Linked DNA regions of Homo sapiens: regions 1, 3 and 4 are each linked to region 2. Evidence: promoter capture Hi-C in 16 types of primary human blood cells and fetal thymus (Javierre and others, 2016). All regions are on one chromosome and are shown on one strand. Each heading gives the region's core, a stretch centred on a gene start or on the middle of the fragment in contact. The rest is flanking DNA. Distances are from core to core; before and after follow the strand shown. Region 1 holds the start of LIPE-AS1 (LIPE antisense RNA 1). Region 2 holds the start of MEGF8 (multiple EGF like domains 8). Region 3 overlaps CXCL17 (C-X-C motif chemokine ligand 17). Region 4 overlaps GSK3A (glycogen synthase kinase 3 alpha).

Region 1 (5,882 bases), core at 235-2,734, 73 kb after region 2:
GCCCCTAGTCCCTCCTTCCTCGGGTCCCAGACTTCTCCTCCTTCAGAACCAAGGAGTCTGAACTCTCAAATCCCCAACCTTCCTCAAGACCCAAGGATCGGGTCAGCAAACAGCCTAGGTATGTGGGGCCAGAAACTCCATTCACGACCATTCTGCGACCGTCTACGCCCAGGGCTCCCACCCCGACTCAGTCCCTCCGGAGGCGGGTCCGACACGCGAGGCGCTTCTTTGGAGTCTGGCGGCGAAAGCTATCCATGACGTCAGTCACTATCTTCCAGCCAATGGACACTCGGCCTTCTACCTCCCTGGGCCACTCAGGACCCTTTGCCTGGTAGGCGGGGCCCACAGCCCAACTCGGGCAGCGATAGGCTTTCGGAGACGCCAGTCTCTGCCAGGCCCAGTCAGTCGGCCAATAGACCCGGAACCTGAGGGATCGGAATCCTGGTCCACTCCGCAGAGGCCCGAGCGGGCTCGCGAGGGAACGGGTTCTCCGAGTCTGGCCGGGTAAGCCCTTTCCAGCACGCCTAGTATTAGGATTCTGCACATAGCTCGGGTGGAAAACCGTGAGGCTTAGTGAGGCTTGAGGCGGAGGGGGGAGGAGCTCAGTCCCGGCGAACCCATCTTGCTTTCTTGGAGAAACTGAGACCGGGATACTGGATCTGTTATTCATCCATCCGTTCCTCCCACCCTAAGCCTGATTCTCGTCTGCTCCTGCCTTCCTGTTCCTTCATCCGTTCTGCCCTTCCTGCCCTCAATTCTCTCACTCACGGATTCCCTCGTCTAGCCACTCACTCACACACTCTCCCACCTATTAGTTAGACAAACATTTCCTGAGGCTTCTGGTGTGCCAAGCCTCGTGCTGGGCGATGCTGGTGACCAAGATGAGTCAGGCCTGGGCCGTGCCCTCAAGGAGCCCGGGTCAGATGGGAGGATGGACGTTGATGGGCATGGGTGTGCGGAGACGGTGGGAGCCCAGGAGAGACTTTTTTGAGTTTGGCGTGGTCGGGAAAGGGTTTCCAGGGGAGGGGCCATTGGAGCTGGATCTTGGAGGAGCAGAAGGTGCCAGGCAAAGTGGAGATGCCAGGCAAAATGGGTGTGGGGAGGGTGTTTCAGCGTGACCAAAGACAGGGAGGCATGCAGGAGCAGTACTGCGTGCAGGTGCCTAAGCGGAAGGCCAGTCAAGTCTGTATGGCCAGCAGGGGAACTGTAAGGCTGGAGGAGGCCGAAGAGATGAGCAGAGGCCAGGCTGAGGAGCTTGGACTTTGTCCTGAGGGTGAGGGGGTAGTGGAGAGCCATGGAAGGGTTGAGAGTAGTGGAGGACAAGGTCATAGTTGGTCCAGAACTGGAGGAATGAGACTGGAAGCCAGTAGCCCAGGAGGTGGCTCTGGCAGGGATTCAGGTAGGAGAGAGTGGAGCCTGGATCAGGGAAGAGGCCGAGGGGATAAGATAGAGATTCAGGAGGCAAGGCTTGGTGCTGTGGCTCGTGTCTGTAATCCCAGCACTTTGGAAAGTTGAGGCGGGAAGATCACTTGAGCCAAGGAGTTCAAGACCAGCCTGGGCAACATAGTGACAGCCTCATCTCTACAAAAAATTAGCCAGGTGTGGCCAGGCGCGGTGACTCACTCCTGTAGTCCCAGCACTTTGGGAGGCCGAGGCGGGTGGATCACGAGGTCAGGAGTTCAAGACCAGCCTGGCCAAGATGGTGAAACCCTGTCTTTACTAAAAATGCAAAAAATTAGACAGGCTTGGTGGTGGGCACCTGTAATCCCAGCTACTCGGGAGGCTAAGGCAGAAAATTGCTTGAACCCAGGACGGGGAGGTTGCAGTGAGCTGAGATCGCGCCACTGCACCCCAGCCTGGGCCACAGAGTGAGACTCAAAATAAAAAAAAAAAAAAGAAAAATTAGCCAGGTGTGGTGGTGCATGCCTATGGTCCAAGCTACTGAGGAGGCTGAAGCAGGAGGATCACTTGAGCCCGGGAAGTCGAGGCTGCAGTGAGCCAAGATGGTGCCACTGCACTCCAACCTGCACAAGAGTGAGACCTTATCTCAAAAAAAAAAAAAAAAAAAAAGAAAGAAAGAAAAATAAATAAGGAGATTCAGGAGGCAGAGAGAACAGAAAGTGGGGATTGATGGGCTATGGGACAAGGGGTTGTCCAGCATGAGACCCAGAGCTCTAGTCTGGAGGACAGTGGAGCCATCTCTGAGGTGGGGACAGGAAAAGAGGAGCAGGTTGATGGGTAGTGACTGTTTTGACAGAGGTGACCAAGGGGTTCTATGAGTTGGACAAGGAGAGTGGTGACTCAGGCCAGTGGATCTGGACCTTCAGGAAGAGTTCTGGGCTACAGCTCCCTGCCCCAGCACAGGCCCTGACTCAGAAGTCACTTGCTGGGTGAACGAGGACCTCTGAGCTGAGGATCCCTTGCTTCGCACCCCGTGAGGAAACGGCTTTCTTGTTTCTGCATCTTCAGTCTCTCCCACTCCTCCAGCATTCAAACATGTCCATCATCTCTAAACACATGTGCCCTGTATCAGGCTCTCTTGTGGCGCCCACTGGCTCAATCCCTTACCTTCCACTCCCTCTTCAACCCACTATGTCTGGCTGCCTAACGGCCATGACCCTGCAGTGGCTCTGGACAAGGTCACTGAGGTCACCTGCTCATTGCTGACACCTGAGGGTAACATTTCAATCCTCATCTGACCTGGTCCACTCCCTGAAACTCCCTTCACCCTACATCCTCCTTCCTGGGCAGCTTCCTCCCTCTCTGGCTGCTCCTTAGAACCCGCCAGCCTTGCCTTCCACTGCCCACCCCCGCCCACCCCTTTACTAGGGGTGTGATCCTCAGGGCTGTCTCTGTCCTGGCCCTCTTGTTGCTTGTCCCACCTGCCCAGGCTTCCTGGAAAGGTTCTAGTCCCTTGGTTCCACCTAGACTGCATTTTTTTTTTTTTTTGAGGCAGAGTCTCATTCTATTGCCCAGACTGGAGTGCAGTGGTGCAGTCTCGGCCGACTGCAACTTCTGCCTTCCAGGTTCAAGCGATTCTCTTGCCTCAGCCTCTCAGTTAGTTGGGATTACAGGCGTGCACCACCACACCTGGCTAATTTTTGTATTTTTAGTAGAGACAGTGTTTCACCATGTTGGCTGGGCTAGTCTTGAACTCCTGACCTCAGGTGATCCACCCGCCTCAGCCTCCCAAAGTGCTGGGATTACAGGTGTGAGCCACCACACCCAGCCCCAGACTGCACTTCTGACCCTTGTTGTCTCCTGGATTGTCTTCCTGAGACCTTCCAGCTCACCATGTCCAGAATGGCCCTCCACAGGTCCCACCTGTCACACACACACCTGAGCCTCCTCCCATTGAAGAGACAGCTTCACTGTCCACCTGCTTCCATGGCCAGACCTGGGTGTCATCTCTGTCCCCTTGCTGTCCTGTAACCTCATCAGTAGGTGCTGTCCTTCCCACCTTTTATGGCTCTGGGATGCTACACCTACACTCCCTACCCTTACGGCTCCTGCCCCAGCTCAGGCATCCTCCTTGGCCTGTAGGACTCCAGTTTTGCCCTTTTCTGTCCATCCCCCAGTGTCCCAGCAGGATCTTTCAGTGCCCTGAGCTGACCCTGGCCCTTTCCTGCTCAAAGTGCTCCTGTGGCTCCCCACTGCCCTCCAGTTTAGTCCAAATCGTACTCCAGGCTCTTCAGGCCCTGCTCCTGCTGACCACTCCAGGCCCCTCACGCCCCTCCCCACTTTGCACCTGACCTTCTGGTCAGGTGGAAGCTTTTTCTAGCCAGGTGGCAGCTTTGATCACTGCCAGCTGGCTCTCACAACCTGGCATGTTTTTTCTTCCTAGCAGACTTTTGTTCATCCTGTAGTGTCAAGCTCAGATCACCACCTCTGTGAAGCCCTCCCTGACTACCACAGGTGGAACCCCTGGGGACTGTGACAGCCTGTGTCTGTTCTTCCACCCTCTCTGAATCCAGGATCAGAAGCCCTTTGAAGGCATGTCTTGGGTATAAATCATCTCAACTCCAAACTCAGGGCTTACAAGGGGCCAGAGAGTTGGTCCAAGAGTTGATTGTCACAGCTGGACAGAGCTTGCATTTCCAGTTTTTGTTTTTTTGGAAACAGGGTCCCACTCTTGCCCAAGTTGGAGTGCAGTGGTGCGATCATAGCTCACTGCAACCTCGAACTCCTGGGCTTAAGTGATCCTCCTGCCTCACCCTCCTGAGTAGGTAGGACTGCAGGAGTGTGCCACCACGCCCGGCTAATTTTTAAATGTTTTTGTAGAGACTGGTCTATGTTGCCCAGGCTGGTCTCAAACCCCTGGACTCAAGCTATCCTCCTGTCTTGCCTCCCAAAGTGCTGGGATTACAGGCGTGAACCTCCGTGCCCGGCTGCATTTACAGTATTTTGAGCGCCAGTTTGTTTCTGATTTCCTGCTAACTTTGCTCCAGTTCTGTAGGGTGTTTGGGTCACTGGAGCCTTTGAGACCCGAGAGATTATTTTTAACTTTTATATCCCCCTGATGGATGCTGAGCCTGGTCTCCCTGGGACCAGGGTGAGTCCAGCTAACCGAAGGTCTTCAAGGGGAGGAGCTGAGGACCCAGCATCTCCTGGCAGTGTACCTGGATGAAGTCCGAGGGGAGGTGGGTCCGGGTTACCAAGGAGTCCACTCCCTTCTGGTCCCAAAAATCCAGTCCCCCATACCCCTCATTCCAGGTTTCTTGGTTCCCAGCCGCTTGAGTCCGATGCTGCCCCCTGGTGGGCAAACACCCCACCGTATTTGAGAGAGGCCAAACTAATTAAATACTTTTATTTACAACAAACCAAACCGACCTGCAAGGGAGGGCCAGTCCCCGTCCCTGCGGCGGTCGCCGCAGCAGCAGCAGCAAAAGGCAGCGGTGGCGTGCAGGTCCAGCCGTCTCGGTGACCGGTGTGTGTGCGCGTCCCCCTCCCCGTGGCGAGGGTCTCAGCTTTCGGGCCCCCGCCCCGCCCCCTTGCCACCCCCGACTTAAGTAAGGCACAGCCCGCGTCCCCTTCCGCCCGGCCCGGAAGGCATTCATGACGGAGGCCGGCGCAGATGGGAACAACAGGCTTTTAGTGTCGCCCCCCGCAGCCCCCGTCTACCCCCGCAGCCCCCGTCTCCCCGCTCGGCCCGGCTCCGGCGGGAGGAGTGAGGACGAGGCGGATGCGCTCCACGCACAGCTCTGCGGCCTGGCGCGTCTCGCGGCACAGCGCCGCTAGGGTCAGGAAGCCGTGCGGCAGGTCCTCCACCACGCGCAGCGTCACCGGCTGGCCCAGGTTGCGCAGTCGCCGCGCGAGCATGACCGAGTCGTCCAGCATGGGGTCCAGCGCGCACGCCTACGGGACAGCGGGGAGGGACGTGGAGAGAGGGTGGGGGACAGACAGACCGGGGTCGGGTAGAGCGAGGAGGGGTTTGATGAACAAAGGGAGCGGGAAATACGGATACAGACGGAGTGGACGGAGGCAGGAGACATGGTGGGTGAGGAGTTGGGGAGAGAATGGAGGGAATGGGGGGAGTTGTGGGAAGGATGGGAGAATGACTTTAACTGCGATCCCCGGCCTCTCTCCAGCCTCTCCCTCCCCACCCCGCCAAACCCACCTTTTTTTTCTCTTGATTCTCCAAGCCCAAGGGGCTGCCCCACTGATCCTGTCTCTTGGTACTCAAAATTGCAAAGTAAAACGGAGGCAGCCCTGACTCTTGTCCTCCTCCCGTTCGTTCGGGGCATTGTTCTCCCCTGGGGACACGCCTGTCCCTTTCTCCCCACTCCGGAGCTCTTTTTCCCAGGTGTACCCGTGCCCGGTCCCCCTCCTCCCCGGGTGCCCTGCTCTTCTCTAAATGCACCTGTACCGGCCCCCTCTGTCGC
Region 2 (5,706 bases), core at 831-3,330:
TCACACCTGCTCCTGGCCCTGGCCTCAGATCATGACCCGCCCATCAGCGGCCAACAAGAACTTCCCGTACCACGTGCGCACGTCGCAGATCGCTTCAGCCGGAGTCCCTGGACCCGGAGGGAGCCAATCCGCTGACAAGGCCTTCCCGCAGCACGTCTATGGGAACGTGACGTTTATCAGCGACTCGGTGCCCAACTTCACGGAGCTCTTCTCCATCCCCCCGCCCGCCACCTCCGTAAGCCCCGCGGCCCCAGCGCCCGAGGAGCTGCTGGCGCCGCCCCTGGAGTACCTGACCCCGCTCCCGGCCCCGCCGCCGCCCCCAGCGCCCGGACCCCTGAGCCCTCCTCCTGCCTTTCGCACTCCCCGCGCCCCAACACCGCGCCGCGACCGTCCCCTGGCGCCCGCGCCCACCCTGCCTGACTGGGTTCTGGCGCTGTTGCGCACACCCCCGCAGACTCCCTGCGCCGTGCCCCCACCGCCCGCCTTCCGCGGCTCTCCCCCAGCTCCCCGGCCGCCGCCGGAGTTCGCCCCGCGCGCCCCGACGCCGCCCTTTGAGTACCTGGCCCCGCTGCCCAGGCGCCCCGCCACCCAGTCCTTCCCTGACTGACAACGTGCGTCCACACCTGGGGTGGAAGGGTTCTCCGGGGGAGGGGGACGGGCCTTCGGGGCCGCATCTGCCCCCCGAGGGTCCCGGACGGCCTCTGACCCTGACCCCCCTCCCAGGCCGGGAAGCAGGTGGAGGAGACAGCGGTGGCGGCGGCGGTGGCCCCGAGGGGCCGCGTGGTGACCATGGCCGAGCCGGGCGCAGCCTCCCCCCCACTTCCCGCTCGGTTCCCCAAGGCGGCCGACTCGGGCTGGGACGGCCCGACGCCGCCCTACCAGCCGCTCGTGCCCCAGACGGCAGCGCCGCACACCGGCTTCACCGAATACTTCAGCATGCACACGGCCGGGGGCACTGCACCCCCGGTCTGAGCACCCCTGCCCGCCCCTGCCCCATGGGCCATGACCGGGCCCCGGCCGGGCTCCGGACCCCTGCTTTATCCCGGCCCGAGAGCTCGCCCATCCCCGGCCTTCCCGACCCTTCCCACCCCGCGCGCCCAGGTTGGGTACGCTGCGTCCCGCCCCCCTCCCCTCTGTGCCAAACGGTCCCGCGGGAGCCGCTCTCCCCGTCCCCTCCCTCAGCCCCTGCCCCGAGCGGCGCCGGATTCTGGGCTCCCGCTGTTCCGTGACCTCCGGCCCCCTGGCCCCCTTCGAGACCTCTGACCCCGCTGGACTCCGGAACACCCGTGGTGACCGCCGGGACCCTGCCTGTGACTCTCCAGGACTCTGCGACCCCGGGATGGATATTGCGATGCTGGTCTCGACCCTGAAACCCTCCCTCGGATCTGTGACCTCGGACCCGTACTCCATCTGCCGCATCTCCATTCCGGGGGCCTTCCCTCGGGTCCCTGGCAGAAAGACATTTTACCCCTTCTTGCCAAAATAAAAAAGGATTCGTTTTTATCTATAACATGGCTTCTTTTGCATCTTGATGGTGTTCAGCGGCGGGGCTGAGCCAGAACTATGTCAGGCTCGGGACCTCAGTGTGTCCATCTGTGAAATGGGAATTTGGAACCGGAGGCAGGGGCCTGTATAACCTGATCTTTATGTTGCCCCAGAATGTGGGAACATTGAAGATGATCAAACATCTAGCAGGGTCTTGCACCGCTCCTTTATTTTTGCCTTCCTTTCCTCACTCAGAGGTAGAGGCGCCCTCCAGTGGCCCATGCTTTGCTGAACCACAGGCACCCAGAGTTTGGGTTACGATCTTAGCACTGCGCATATGTGTATTTCTCTCCCTCCAGGAGGACGCTGCTGCGCATGCGGTTGGGAACAAATGGGCGGGGATTTCCCCGGAAGTCTCCCTTTATGGAGGGTTGGGGTTGGGCGCTCCGCAGTCCTCCCAGGGCCGCTCTGACCGGCCGCTCTGTAACTTCTCGCCTCCTCTTCGCCGTCCCTCCCACAGCGGCTGCTCGGCTCCCGCCCCCTCGCCCTCCCACAGCGGGTCTTCCCGCGGCCGCTCTGGCCCAAGCGTCCCCTCGTCTCTCTGATCTGGCCCATCCGGCTTCGGAGGGAGGCGAGGGTGGGTGAGCAAAGGGATTGGGTCTGTGGGGTCCAGGCCCGAACCCCTGAAGACGGGCTCCGCCCCCGGCACCCGCTCGCGCCCCGCCCCCGGCTGGAGGAGTCTCTCCTGGACCATCCGAACCTAGCCTGTCCCGGCCCGCAGCCTCTATGGAGGCTCCTGCCGGGCCGTAGAGCCCTTCGCCCCCTGGGGACCCACCCGTCTATAAGGTCCGTTTGGCCTGCAGCAGCCTGAGTCCGTAATGCTGGGCACTGTTCATGGGATCGGCCCCCTATGGAGCCCTGTGTCTATAGGGGACTCCTACGGTCCCTAGGGTTCGGCCCCGTCCATAATGACTCCATATACAGGGCCTTCCATCGCTCTATAGGGCTCAGCCCTCGGCTTCCAGAGCCTGTCAGCAGTGGCCGTACCCTTCGCCGGGACTGCCGGGTCTCCGGGACCTCTTCGATCTACAAGGTCATGTTATGCCTATAGAGGTCGCATTTGCAGGGCCTCACCCCGGGTAGAGGGTCCTCTCCAGGTTTTTACGGCCTGTCCCCGCTCTAAGGGTCAGTGCAGGAGGCGGCGATGGCCCTGGGCAAGGTTCTGGCCATGGCACTGGTTTTGGCCTTGGCCGTGCTGGGGTCGCTGTCCCCTGGGGCCCGGGCGGGGGACTGCAAGGGGCAGCGGCAGGTGCTGCGGGAGGCGCCAGGCTTCGTGACGGATGGTGCGGGCAACTACAGCGTCAATGGCAACTGCGAGTGGCTCATCGAGGGTGAGTGGGGCCGCGTGGGTCACTCACTAATTCGCTGGTAGTTCATTCATGTGTGCATTCATCCACTCACCACATTCCCAGAGCTCGGTTCTGGTCCAGGCCTTTTGCTCTAAAATGCCTGACACCCAGGGTTGCAGCCAACCTGGGCCCTGCCCTGGAAGGCCTCCAAGTCTGGTGGGGGAGATGCACCTACACCCAGATTTACAATTACAAGACAGGAGCATCAGTGCCGGGCCTTCTGAGTAACTGTTAAGAACTCAGGGTCTGGGTCCAATCATTTGGCTTTGAATTTGGTTCTACTACTACTACTTTTTTTTTTTTTTTTTTTTGAGATGGGGGCCTCACTCTGTCACCCAGGCTGGAGTGCAATGGTACCAACACAATTTACTTACTGCAGCCTCGACCTCCTGGGCTCAAGTGATCCTCCCACCTCAGCCTCCCAAGTAACTGAGTGTGTAGAGACAGAGTCTCACCATGTCGCCCAGGCTAGTCCTGAACTCTTGGGCTCAAACGATCCTCGCACCTCAGCCTCCCAAAGTGTTGGGATTGTAGGTGTGAGCCACTGTGCCTGGCTTCTTATTATTAGCTTTGTGACTTTGAGCAGGTGGTTTTCTTTCTCTGAGGTTCTGTTTCCTTCCCCCACAAATGGGATAACAACAGTACTCACCTCATAGAGTTGTTGGAATGAAATGAAAACAGGTATTTAACATGCCTGATGTGTGGCATATAGTAACTGTTCAATAAATGGCATTAGGATTATTGTTGTTGTTATTTGTGAAGTACTTCAATAAAAGCATTTTTCTTCAGTCATTCATGTGCCAGACATTATGTTTCCCATTGGACATAGCCCAGACTGAGACAGCTCCAGCAATCCCTGGTGACTTAGGTCTTGGAGTCTAGTTGGGGAGACAAACACATTAATAGTGAGAGACAAGAGTGGTCTTTGATGGAGGAACCCCAGAGGCCTGGGAGAGCCCAGAGAAAGTGCCTGATCTGGGGCCGGGGAGAACAGAGAGGCTTCCTGGAGGAGGAAATGTCTAAGCTGAGACTTAAAGGACCAATAGGAATCTGTCAGGAGTGGGAGGAAAGGCCCCAGCCCTACCCTTCTGGGCTCCCAGTCAGTGGGAGAGACAAACCCACTCCGAGGCTGTTTGTTTTCCTTTTCCACCCAATAAACTCCTATGCATGCCTCAGAACCCTGCCCCAGTGGCTCTTTCTCTGTGAAGACATGTGGCTTAACCTGGGGTATAGCTGAGATCAGAGGCATCTGTACGAGGGAGCAGAAGGGCATTCCAGGCAAGAATAGCTGTGCAAAGGCGGGGAAGCGGGAGAGTGATGCTTTTGAAGAACTAGAAATCCAGTGTGTTAAAACATAGAATACTGGCAGGGTATGGTGGCTCATGCCTGTAATCCCAGCACTTTGGGAGGCCGAGGCCGGCAGATCGCCTGAAGTCAGGAGTTTGAGACCAGCCTGGGCAGTATGGTGAAACCCCATCTCTACTAAAAATACAAAAATTAGCTGGGTGTGATGGCGCGCGCCTGTAGTCCCAGCTTCTCAGGAGGCTGAGGCACAAGAATCACTTGAACCTGGAGGTTGCAGTGAGCCAATATTGTGCCACTACGCTCCAGTCTGGGCGGCAGAGCGAGACTCCATCTGAAACAAAAACAAAAACATAGAATACAAGACAACGAATGAGCCAGAGGCTGCAGGGTGGGAGGAGCCAGCAGGTGTAGGGCTCTGTGATTTTGAGCTGTATCCTGAGGGCAATACAGGGGTGAAAGAGAAGTTGAAAGGCAGTACCTGCAGAAGCCCAGGAAGGCCTCACAGAGTAGTGGATGTAAAAGCTGGCCTCCAGACAGGGGAGGTCCTGGGCAAAGGCCAGAGGTGTGACAGAGCCTGGATCATGCAGGGCCTCCCTTGGGAGGCTGTGGAGCTTTGTCTTTGTCTGGGGGCTCTGGGGAGCTATGGAAGGGTTTTGAGCAGGGAGAGGACATGATCTGATTTATGTTTTAGAAGATCTCTCTGGCTGCTGTGTGGGGTATGGATGAAGGCCTGTTTCTCAGTGATAGCATGTCTACCTGTTCCCAGCTTGGGGGCCATTCCTGTCAAGCTAGTGGGATGAGAACAGAATAGGAAGTGTGTGTGTGTGTGTGTGTGTGGCGAAGGGGTCTGTGTGCTGGATATAAATCACTCTCTGGCCTTAAAGAGTCCCAGACTGGTTAGGCCAGGTGCGGTGGCTCACGCCTGTAATCCCAGCACTTTGGGAGACCAAGTGGGGCGGATCACCTGACGTCAGGCTTTAGAGACCAGCCTGGCCGACATGAAGAAACCCCCTCTCTACTAAAACTACAAAAATTAGCCCTGCGTGGTGGCGCACATCTGTGGTTCCAGCCTGGGTGACAGAGCGAGACTCTACCTCAAAAAAAAAGAAAAAACGTCTCAGACTGGTTGGGAATGGTGGGGCTGGACACAGATATTCAGCCCCCAGTGTGTTCACTGAGACAGTGCTCAGGGCTAAGAAGGAAAGTGGAGGGGTGGGGTGGATGTACCTAGGGAGGAAAGAGGACTGTGCTGCAGATAACAGAGCAGGAGCCACTAAAATAGGGTTCTGAAGCATGCATAGGAGTTTATTGAGTGGGAAAAGGGAGCAAACAGCCTCTATGAAGACGTGAGGGTGGCTGGAGTGTCTCAGGATCCCCATCTAGGTTTGCCTGGTCTTATGGCACTTTTGACTGGGAGGTAATGAGAGCCAGAAGCAGGGGAAGAGGGGCCTTGAATGTCACACTGAGCAGCCTGGCCTTCCCCTTGGGGTTGATGGGCAGCCACAGG
Region 3 (5,309 bases), core at 2,565-5,064, 110 kb after region 2:
TAAAGTAAGATTACTAAAGTTATTATACTCATTTACAATTTTGATACAGCCAAATTTATTTTACTTCCGTCAATAGTGTATAAGGATCCTGATATATCCCATTCTTGATAATATCATAATATCAATCAGTTTAACATTTGCCAATTTAGTTTTTTTTTTTTTTTTTTTTTGAGGCAGAGTCTCACTCTGTCGCCCAGGCTGGAGTGCAGTGGCATGATCTCAACTCTCTGCAACCTCCACCTCCCGGATTAAAGCAATTCGCGTGCCTCAACCTCCCGAGTAGCTGGGATTACAGGCATGCACCACTATGCCCCGCTAATTTTTGTATTTTTAGTAGAGACGGGGTTTCACCATGTTGGCCAGGCTGGTCTTGAACTCCTGGCCTCAAGCAATCCGCCTGCCTCGGCCTCCCAAAGTACTGGGATTACAGGCATGAGCCACTGTGCCCGGCTGCCAATTTACTTTTTATATGACACTTAAAAACTGGTAGACTAAACTGGGTGTGGTGGTGTGTACCTCTAACCCCAGATCCTTGGGAGGCTGTGGTGGAAGGATCACTTGAGCCCAGGAGTTTGAGACCAACCTGGGCAACATGGCAAGACCCCCTACTCAAAAAACAGAACAAAATAACAAACACAAAACTGCTAGACTAGGGAGGAGTCAAATTCTGTTTGATGCTGACACTGGTGTAATCTTCAGAGATTAATGACCAGATCTCCAACAGCCCCATCTACCCCCACTTTGGTAAACAGTGAGGTTTTAAAATCTAAGAATTTGGTTAAACCTTTCCAGTATCAGGAAAATTGTATCCTGCTTTTCCTCTCTTCCTATTTCCCGACAAGGTGACATTGAGTAGAAAGGGCTGAGTTGTGTGCTTATCCTGGTCTTAATTTCACCTCTTTTTTCTATTCTCAACGTGCTTCTTCCCTAGTGATTTCACGGAGTGACTCTGGTATAAGGAAAATCATCCTTTGGAAACTTACTTGTTTTCTTCACATTGCCCTTGAAATGATCACAGGGGCACTGCTTCTTTGGCAGCCCAGACACTGTCATGAATTTTCTTCTCGGGGCTCTCAGGAACCAATCTGGAACAACAGCATTGCTGCTTAGATGGGAGAGTTAATACATTTGATAGGAGGGAGTAGGACAGAGCTTTAATCGCCATCTTCTGTGCCTTGCATTTCCACTGCAATGGGGTGGGAAAAGGGGTCAACAGAGAACAGTGTCCATCCAGCTATTTGAATGCCAGTATTTCTGAGTTGTTTTTCCTGACAACTTTGGGCAAGGTTTGGGCAAGGGTTTGGGCAAGGGTTTGGTGGCAGGTTTGGAGGGTGCATCAGAATATCATTACTCCAAAGAATGAGGAGTAAGGCTTGGGTGTCTGCTTTTCAGTGGCTACTTTCCCTTGGGGAAGCCATTTTGCCTCTCTGCTTTCAGTCTTGCCTGTGAGTAAAATAAGGCTGAGAATAGGATTCAGGAAGCTTTTGGAAGGCCAGGAAAAAATAAAAAGGCTTTTGGACGGTAGCTCTGGGTTCTTCAGGAAAAGGATAAGGGGCAGGGCGCAGCCTGACATTTGGCTGGCTTTCCCCTAGACCTTGGAGAAGTCCAGTTCTTGCCTGAGAGTCAGGAAGAAAGTGGGCACAGGTGCTGCATGTGGCAGGCTGTGGAGAGGGGAATGGGTGAGGTCAGCTGAGATAACATCTGCATTGGTCTCAGAGGGGCCCAAGGGAGAGAGCTGGGGTCATGGTGATGCCATCGCTGTTGTTGTTGCTGAATTACTGACCTTTGCACTCACATTCTTGGCCGCCTTCCTGGAGCCATCTCCTAGAAGCCTGGCCTCGGTCCCTGTGGCCTCTGGCGACCCCTGTCGGAAGGAAACAGGTCACATCCAGACACTGGAAAGGGCACAGAAATGATCCTCCCAGCATTGTTCTACCTAGGTCAGCACAGTTCCATTTTTCCATTTTTACTTCAAGAATCTAGGTTACTTCAAGAGATGAATATTTTATTTTTATTTATATTTTTGAGATGGGGTCTTGCTGTGTTGCCTAGGCTGGTCTTGAACTCTTGGGCTCCAGTGGTCCTCCTGCCTTGGCCTCCCAAAGTGCTAGGATTATAGGCGTGAGCCACTGTGCCCAGCTGAGGGGTATTTTAATCGATAAGGGATTGAGGTTTAAAATCTGGCCTATACATAAGCATATTCAAAAATTTAATGATTAAAAAAATCTGGCCTAGAGAAAAGCTTAGCTGAAGGTAGGTGGAGAAAGAATGGCTTCTAGATGGAAGAGATGATAAAAGGCAGGGGTTTGTCGAAACCTCCTGCCCTCTCCTCATACCTCACATTAAAATCCTCATGACTTAAAAGAGTGAGAGCGAGGAGGAGATTATTCCTTAAATCAAGATTTTCCCTTGACCTCCAAGTTGCTGGGTTTTTTGTTTGTTTGTTTGTTTTTTGAGACAGAGTCTCACTCTGTCATCCAGGCTGGAGTGTAGTGGTGCAATCACGGCTCACTGCAGCCTTGACCTCCTGGGTTTGGTTGGTCCTCCCATCTCAGCCTCCTGGGTAGCTGAGGCTTCAGGCATGCACCACCACTCCTGGCTAGTTTTTTGTATTTTTTGTAAAGATAGGGTTTTGCCAAGTTGCCCAGGTTGGTCTGGAGCTCATGGGCGTAAGCGATCCGCCTGTCTTGGCCTCCCAAAGTGCTGTGATTATAGGCATGAGCCACCACACCCACCCCAAGTAGCTGTATTTGAATCCAGAGTCCCAGTTCAACTATTAAACGATGGTATTTACCTTTGTTCCTCTGGAACAAATACATTCTTCTTTTGGCCTTTATCCGAGCCTGTTTTATTTTCCGATTCTATCTTATCTCCATTTTTTGATACTTAAAATATTCCTATGACAGGCTGGGCACGGTGGCTCATGCCTGGAATCCCAGCACTTTGGGAGGCTGAGGCAGGCGGATCATGAGGTCAGGAGGTCAAGACCATCCTGGCTAACATGGTGAAACCCCGTCTCTACTAAAAATACAAAAAATTAGGCGGGCGTGGTGGCGGGCGCCTGTAGTCCCAGCTACTCGGGAGGCTGAGGCAGGAGAATCTCTTGACCCCAGGAGGCGGAAGTTGCAGTGAGCTGAGATCGTACCATTGTACTCCATCCTGGGCGACAGAGCGAGACACGGTCTCAAAAAAAAAAAAAAAATTCCTAAGACAATCAAGAATGATGGTTTATAGACTTGAGATTCTCAAGTAAGAGCTTGGCTCAGATGACACTTCCTTTATGGTAGTTTCTGATATTTCCTGTCAACATGAATTATACCTTCATATGGTTCCCATTGTTGTTGAATGCAGTTCTGTTATTGCACTGTAATGTTGTTGTTTGAAATCTTTTATGGACTGAATTGTGTCTCCCGAAATTCACATGTTGAATCCATAACCCCCAGTACCTCAGAATGACTGTATATGGAGATAGGACCTTTAAAGAGGTGATTAAAATCAGGCTGTTATGGTGGGCCCTACACCAGTCTGCCTGGTGTCCTTATAAGAAAAGGAGATTTGGGCTGGGCGCGGTGGCTCATGCCTATAATCTCAGCAATTTGGGAGGCCGAGGTGGGTGAATCACAGGTCAGGAGTTTGAGACCAGCCTGGCCAACATAGTGAAACCCTGTCTTTACTAAAAATACAAAAATGAGCAGGGCATGGTGGCGCGTGCCTGTAGTCCCAGCTACTTGGAAGGCTGAGGCAGGAGAATTGCTTGAACCCGGGAGGCAAAGGTTGCAGTGAGCTGAGATCATACCATTGCACTCCAGCATGGGCAACAAAGCAAGACTTTGTCTAAAAAAAAAAAAAAAAAGTAGGGGGGATCCTAGAGAGCTCTTTCATTCTCTTTCCACCTCTTGAAGATAAGAGGAGAAGTCCACTGTCTGCAACCTGGAAGAGGACCCTTGCCAGAACCCAGCTGTGCTGGCACCCTGATTTCATATATCCAGCCTGCAGAACTGTGAGGAATAAATTTCTCTTGTTTATGCCACCCAGTCTGTGGTATTGTGTTATGGCATTCCTAGCAAACTAAAATAAAATATTTCTCCTTCACTAGACTCTGAACCATTGGTTCAGTAGTCATTCAGGTACGTGGTTCCTAACACATGGTAGGCATTTGGCAAATGTTTGTTCAACACGTGGATGGATAAGTTGTTTGGAGAGGACCCTTAGAGATCATATGGTTCAATTCAGGCCTCCTACTTCCCAGACTTCTGCCACACAGATGGAGGGGGTTGCGTCATTTCCCCAAGGGCTGCTTTTCCAATGTTCTCATGTGCTGTTTTGAGTGTTATCAAAGTAATTTAAGCAGGCATAGGTCCTGCCATTTAAACTTTTCTAACATTTTTACTCTTGCCTGACCTCTACTCCTAGTTCCAGAGAAAAACCACAGAATATTAGACCTTGAAGGAAATCCCAGAGATTATTTAATTGAATTCCTTAATTCTGAAGTTTTTTTTTTTTTCAGTCTAAATGTAATTTAACTGTTGGAGAAAATTTTGAAAGTACAAACAGAGAAATTATTATTCTTACCAACTGTTGGTATTTTGGCATATTTGTTACCTACATATGCTTTTTATTAATATAGTGATAACCATAGCATGTAAACACATTCTCTTTTTCCATTCATAGGCATGTTGCTGTGTCATCTTCATAACACATTTTTAATGAATGCATAATACTCTCAATAATTATGTGTTCCAAATTATTTAACTGCTTTCCCATTGCTGAATATTTAGAAAGTTTTATTTTTTAGATGTTGGTAAATTTCTTTGTTCTTGTAACTGTTTTCCAAATTTTAGATTATTTTCTTGAGAGAGAGTTCCCAAAGTGGAATTACTGGGTCAAAAGTTAAGAATTGCTTTCAGAAGAGCTATACTAATGTTTAAATTTTTTTTCATTTAATTATTTATTTATTTTTTTTGAGACGGAGTCTCACTCTGTCGCCCAGGCTGGAGTGCAGTGTTGTGATCTCGGCTCACTGCAACCTCTGCCTCTCGGGTTCAAGCAATTCTCCTTCCTCAGCCTCCCAAGTAGCTGGGATTACAGGCACCCACCACCATGCCTGGCTAATTTTTGTATTTTTAGTAGAGGCAGGTTTTACCATGTTGGTCAGGCTGGTCTTGAACTCTTAACCTCAAGTGATCCGCTCCCCTCGGCCTCCCAAAGCGTTGGGATTATAGGCATGAGATGCTATGCCTGGCCACTTTATACTTTTTCTCTAAACAAATTTATTTTGCAAAACATCCTCATCCTATGCAATATTATCT
Region 4 (5,283 bases), core at 2,233-4,732, 92 kb before region 2:
CCCAGACCCTAGAGCAGCAGGCAGCTTGGGCTAAGACAGACGGCCCATTGTTCAAGTCCTGACTCTTCTGTCACTTAAGCTCCATGGCCTTCCCCTCTCTGATCCCCAGTTGGCTCACCAGTTACTGGGAGGTTAATCCCTCCCTCCCTAAGCAGAAGCAGATGATTTATGCTGGGTCATGGAGCAGGCTCCTCCTAGGCCTCTACAGCAGATAACCCAGATGGAGCTCATCACCACACGTGCAGAGAAAGCCACGGTGTGAGAAGGTTGGGCACCTGAGCCAGGGCCTTCGGACAGCCCTCTGCCTGAGATGCAGCTCACTCCCGTCCCAGAACAGTCCCCCCACCGGAAGCCCCCACCACCTCAGCGGAAACAGGCAGCCGGACAGAAAGCAGGTTTTCATGCCAATAATTTATTGAACGGAGGTCTGTACACAGGCAAACCTTACTGTGGAAACTAAGACATCAGGAGCTCTCTCCACTCCCCTGGCCCTCCAGGGTGGGGTGAGGAGGGAGTAGACCTTGGGGGCAGAGGACAGGAGGGGAGTTACAGCTGTAGGAGGGGCGGGGCCAGGTTGGACGGTGCGAATCGACGTTTTCTTTAAGAAAAAAATTATAACAATCTATTTACACCCGGGGGCCAGGGAAGGGAAGAGGAGACGGGCTGGGCTGGTTCTATTTACAAGGGACACAGGAGGGGAGGGGGTCTGGAGGAGGTGGAGGTCTGGGGGAGGGGAGGGGGCCAAGGGGGTAGGAGGTCCTCATCCCCCCAACACCCTGTCCTTCTCTTCCCTCCCCACAACCAGTTAAAATCCTCTTAAAAAGCCCACCACAGGGGTGAGGCTGGTGAGGGAGGGACTGGAGGTGGGGACAGGGACTCATTTACCTCTGCCCTCTAGTCTAGGGGCCCAGCCAGGGCAGGAGCTTGATGGGCTATGGCCCCCCTTCCCAGCCCCTCTTGGGGCTCCCAGATGGAAGTGGAAGGGTGCTTGGTGGGGCCCTCAGGAGGAGTTAGTGAGGGTAGGTGTGGCATCGGTCGACTGCCAGTCTGAGCTGGTCGGAGTCTCAGTTAAAGCTGGAGGGAGGCAGGGAAGGAGCAGAGTTAGCCTTTGCCTTTCAGACACCCCTTCGCCCAACCCAAAAGTAGGAATTCTCTTGTCATAGATGCTACATTAAAAGTTACAAGCTGTTACTTTAGGTGAAGGGTTGCAAACTCAAGTGCTAAAGGGCCACGATAGTAACTGAGTGACACACCAGAGTGCCAGGCTCCATATAAGGCGGTGGCTGGGCTGGGCACAGTGGCTCACGCCTGTAATCCCAGCACTTTGGGAGGCTGAGGTGGGCAGATCACAAGGTCAGCAGTTCGAGACCAGCCTGGCCAACATGGTGAAACTCCATGTCTACTCAAAATACAAAAATAAGCCAGGCATGGTGGTATGAGCGTGTAATCCCAGGTACTTAGGAGGCTGAGGCAGGAGAATCACTTGAACCCAGGAGGCAGAAGTTGGAGTGAGCCGGGATTGTGCCACTGCACTCCAGCCTGGGTGACAGAAAAAGACTCCGTCTAAAAAATATAAAGGGCGCCCACTGTCTACTGTCAGTAGGATGGGCGGGCCCATTGCTGCCCAATCTGATTTTCTTCCCCAAGAGAAACAGGAAATCTGAATTTTTACATAAAATAGCCCCATTTTTAAACGTGGACACCATGGCCAGGCACAGCGGTTCACGCCTGTAATCCCAACACTTTAGGAGGCCAAGCGGGAAAATCACCTGAAGTTCAAGACCAGTCTGGCCAACATGGTGAAACCTCATCTCTAGTAAAAATACAAAAATTAGCCAGGCGTAGTGGTGTGTGTCTGTAATCCCAGCTACTCGGAGGCTGAGGCAGGAGAATTGCCTGAGCCCAGGAGGCGGAGATTGCAGTGAGCCGAGATCGAGCCACTGCACTGCAGCCTGGGTGGCGAGTGAAACTCTATTGCACAAAAAAAAAAAAAACAAACTTGGGCAACGAATTCAACTTTTTGTTTGTGTTCAGGCCAGACGTTATTTCTCTGGCTTTCCCATTGGCATTAAACACATTTAAACATTTGTACGCAAGAATACCCTCTAAAGGTGGTCATTCACATGTTGTAAGATGTGTTTCCTATGCCATCAAAATGTCGATGATTTAAAAATACATTCAGGAAACCCAGTCACTGAGCGAACAGCCCCACCCTCTCCAGGCTGAGAGATACTTTAACCCCCAGCAGATGGTCCCCACTTACCTTGTGAGGACGGGGTGAGGGTGGTAGTGCCCGCTGGGGACCTCAAGTGAGGAGGGATGAGAATGGCGTTGAGAGACGGTTGGATGGAGAGTTCTAGAAACAGGAATTGACATGCTAGTCAGGGTAGACTACAGCAGGGTTATGATGGGCACCAAATGGGAACCCAGCTATTGGGAAGGCCAGTTGTTTGTGGACACCTTCAGCCACAGACCTCTCTCAATGAAAAACCAGAAAAAGCTTAGCACAAGGCAGATCACAGTAAAGCACAACTGAAGCAGGTTCGATTCCCCCTGAATCTGGGAGTCATCTTTCCTGAGCCCCAGGCCTGCCTTGTACCCTGCCCTTAGCTCCCCACTCCTGCTTCAACACCAAGCTCCTCACAATCTTTGGCTGCCCCCCTACCCCGCCCCACTCCCCAGATCCCAGGCTATGCCCTCACCACCAGCACTGAAGTTGAAGAGAGGGGGAAGTGGGCGGTTGTTAGGCAGCTGGGTTCCCAGACATCGCAGTTCATCAAAGAAGCTGTGCGCACAGGCCTCTAGTGGGGAGAGCCTTGAGGATGGGGTGTACTCCAGCAGGCTAGAGCAGAGCGCGATGGCCTCTGGCGGCGTTCGAGATTTGAACACCTGAGGGATGGGTGCAGGGCTCATGAGGGTGAGATGCCCTGGACACTGGCATACTCCTGTTATCTCACTGCCACAGTGCCTGCGGCAAGTTATGACTGGTTGCTTCCCACACCCCCACCTTCCAAATGAAGAAACTAAGGCCCAACCACTAAGGAGAGGTCAGTTTGTATCGGGTAAGCAGGCAGCCCAGGTCTGGGACTATATGAGCCCTGCTGACCCTCCATAAAAATTGGAATCTTGAATTTACTTGTGGGTTCTCAACTTTTAAAATGCCATAAACTTTGAAAGCGGATGGATGTTATTGATCCCTGGATAACTCTTCAAATCCTCCCAAGCCGTGATTCTGAGGCTAGGTCCACAGAACAGTTGACCTCCAAGGGGGACCAGCTCTCAGCCATACTGCCCTGAGCCCCTAGCCCTGCCCCACCTTTGTCCAGGGGTGAGCTTTAATCTGAGGGAACTTGAACTCCGTGTAGTTGGGGTTCATCTCTCGGATTTGTTCCCGGGTTGGTGTTCCCAGCACCTGTAAAGAGAGGGAGGGGTCTGAGACAAGGGCCCCATCCCTCAGCCCCACCCCCTGCCCAGCCCAGCCCCGCCCCTCACCTTGATGATCTCCACCAGCTGGTCCACCCCACTGTCCCCAGGGAAGATGGGCTGGCCCAAGAGGAGCTCTGCCAGTACACAGCCAGCTGACCAAACATCTGAGGGGAAATGGAGGGAGCGTCAGGGCTAGGCGAGTAGGGCCACCAACCTCCCAATGCTTTTATTCCTCATGGCCATCCTAAGAGTGTCAGGAGCCCCGTTTTCTCAAAGACAAAGCACCTGGCCCAAGGTCACATGCAGCTTAGAAACATGGGCCCGACCTTGACCCTGCCTTTGCTGTACTCTCTAGTCTAGGTGTGTTTCCAGCCCTCAGTTCCTCTCTCTGCTAAGGACCCCAATGAGCTCCTTCTCTCCCGCTAGCCTTGGACGACAGACCAAATTAGGCCCAAACCTGCCAACAGGCACCCATGTTCTTTGGGCCACAGGAAGGTACAGCCTTAAATCCTGGACTGCCTTCCTCTTGTTCCAGCCTCTCTCCTGCCCATGAGAAGAGCTGCAGCGTGGCAGTCTCACCCCTCCCTGCTTTGTACCTTGACCCCCACAGCACGAGTTCATACCTAAGGACTCCACAGTTCGTCATGCTGCTGTGGAAGGTGCCCTTTCAAACTCTCATGCCCATTCCCTCAATTCAGACTTCCCCTCATGCCTGGAAAATGGCAGTTGTCCCCACAAACAGGGAAGGACACAGAGGCCCTGGGAGCAAGTTGCACCTTCATGGTGGCAAAGCCTTGCTTCCCGGTTCCCCCAAGGTCTCCAGCAGCCCTTCCCCCTAGCTGAGAACAGAGGGCTGACAGGGAGGTTCCAGAGCTGGTATGGACTCTGGAGTCAGGTCAGCTTTCAAATCCCAGTCCTGCCCAGTCCTAGTGGTGCCAGTGCGGGCAGGCGGCCTCACAGCTCTAAGCTCATCTGTAAAATTAGCATTCAACAGCATCAGCCTCCTAAGTTTGTGAGGACTGGATACAAGAACAGAAGTTAAGCTTTCATCACCAAGCTTGGCATACAGCACACAGAAAACTCCAAAACTTCCCAGATTGCCACTCCCCCCGCCACCCTCCCATAACTCTGACCGATGGATGAGGTGTAATCAGTGGCTCCAAAGATGAGCTCTGGGGCCCGGTAGTAGCGAGAACAGATGTAGGAGACATTGGGCTCCCCTCGGACCAACTGCTTTGCACTGTGGGAAGAGATGGGCAGGGGTACACGTGAGGCAAGGGTTGGGGTCCCCCCTGCCTCTTCAGCCACCCAACATGCCCCAGGCCCACCTGCCAAAATCGCAGAGCTTGAGGACAGCAGTGTCAGGGTCCACCAGCAGGTTCTGGGGCTTGATGTCGCGGTGACACACGCCCTGGGAGTGGATGTAGGCCAAGCTGCGGAAGAGCTGGTACATGTACACCTGCGGCGGGCACAGGATAGCAGAACTTTAGCCCAGCTTTCCCCATACAGCACCACTACCCCACCAGCTTGGCCTGAAGAGCCCTTCCAGGCCCACTCTCCCTGCTGCCCCCACAGCTTTGGGGAAACCCATTTGAAACCTTGGTTCTCTTAATGTGCACCACAATCACTTGAAGGACTTGTTAAAACAGGGACTACTGGCTGGGCGTGGCGGGTCACGCCTGTAATCCCGGTATTTTGGGAGGCCAAGACCAGCCTCGCCAACATGTTGAGATCCCGTCTCTACTAAAAATACAAAAATTAGCCGGGCGTGGTGGTGCACACCTGTAATCCCAGCTACTCGGGAGGCTGAGGCAGAAGAATCACTTGAACTCAGGAGGCGGAGGTTGCAGTGAGCCG

What was found. The method cuts DNA at HindIII sites, captures the fragments that hold promoters and counts their contacts. A CHiCAGO score of 5 or more calls a contact.
Region 1: a contact is called between a fragment that was not itself captured here and the fragment with the promoter of MEGF8 in region 2, in 3 of 17 cell types (total B cells, naive B cells and M1 macrophages). The highest score is 7.0, in total B cells.
Region 3: a fragment that was not itself captured here is called in contact with the fragment with the promoter of MEGF8 in region 2 in 5 of 17 cell types (naive CD4 T cells, total B cells, fetal thymus and 2 more); the score reaches 6.5 in naive CD4 T cells.
Region 4: a fragment that was not itself captured here is called in contact with the fragment with the promoter of MEGF8 in region 2 in 1 of 17 cell types (endothelial precursors); the score reaches 5.1 in endothelial precursors.

Annotation. Positions count from the first base shown.
Region 1 is chr19:42,396,721-42,402,602 of GRCh38, forward strand. It overlaps LIPE-AS1 (LIPE antisense RNA 1), which reads left to right and starts at 428. Exons shown (of 3, transcript NR_073180.1): 1 at 428-504. It overlaps LOC101930071 (a long non-coding RNA gene), which reads left to right and starts at 408. Exons shown (of 2, transcript NR_126041.1): 1 at 408-504. It overlaps LIPE (lipase E, hormone sensitive type), which reads right to left. Exons shown (of 10, transcript NM_005357.4): 10 at 4,794-5,355. The coding sequence ends at 5,092. RefSeq lists enhancers at 1-94, 115-274, 129-812, 813-1,496 and a silencer at 4,929-5,038. The HindIII fragment of the contact is 4,570 bases long and covers 1-3,769 here.
Region 2 is chr19:42,323,555-42,329,260 of GRCh38, forward strand. It overlaps MEGF8 (multiple EGF like domains 8), which reads left to right and starts at 2,081. Exons shown (of 42, transcript NM_001271938.2): 1 at 2,081-2,876. The coding sequence starts at 2,690. TMEM145 (transmembrane protein 145) reads left to right here. Exons shown (of 15, transcript NM_173633.3): 14 at 29-235; 15 at 1,183-1,510. The coding sequence ends at 1,263. RefSeq lists silencers at 2,007-2,196, 2,237-2,376, 2,597-2,666, 2,677-2,746. The HindIII fragment of the contact is 9,695 bases long and covers 1-5,706 here.
Region 3 is chr19:42,431,993-42,437,301 of GRCh38, forward strand. It overlaps CXCL17 (C-X-C motif chemokine ligand 17), which reads right to left. Exons shown (of 4, transcript NM_198477.3): 2 at 1,784-1,864; 3 at 984-1,085. The region is part of intron 1 of LIPE-AS1 (LIPE antisense RNA 1); the gene reads left to right. Among named protein-coding and RNA genes, the nearest start is that of LIPE, 7.3 kb to the left of the region's middle. The HindIII fragment of the contact is 3,149 bases long and covers 2,241-5,309 here.
Region 4 is chr19:42,229,794-42,235,076 of GRCh38, forward strand. GSK3A (glycogen synthase kinase 3 alpha) reads right to left here. Exons shown (of 11, transcript NM_019884.3): 5 at 4,755-4,885; 6 at 4,560-4,666; 7 at 3,493-3,590; 8 at 3,317-3,412; 9 at 2,703-2,889; 10 at 2,264-2,356; 11 at 397-1,074. The coding sequence ends at 1,001. Among named protein-coding and RNA genes, the nearest start is that of GSK3A, 10 kb to the right of the region's middle. The HindIII fragment of the contact is 1,969 bases long and covers 2,499-4,467 here.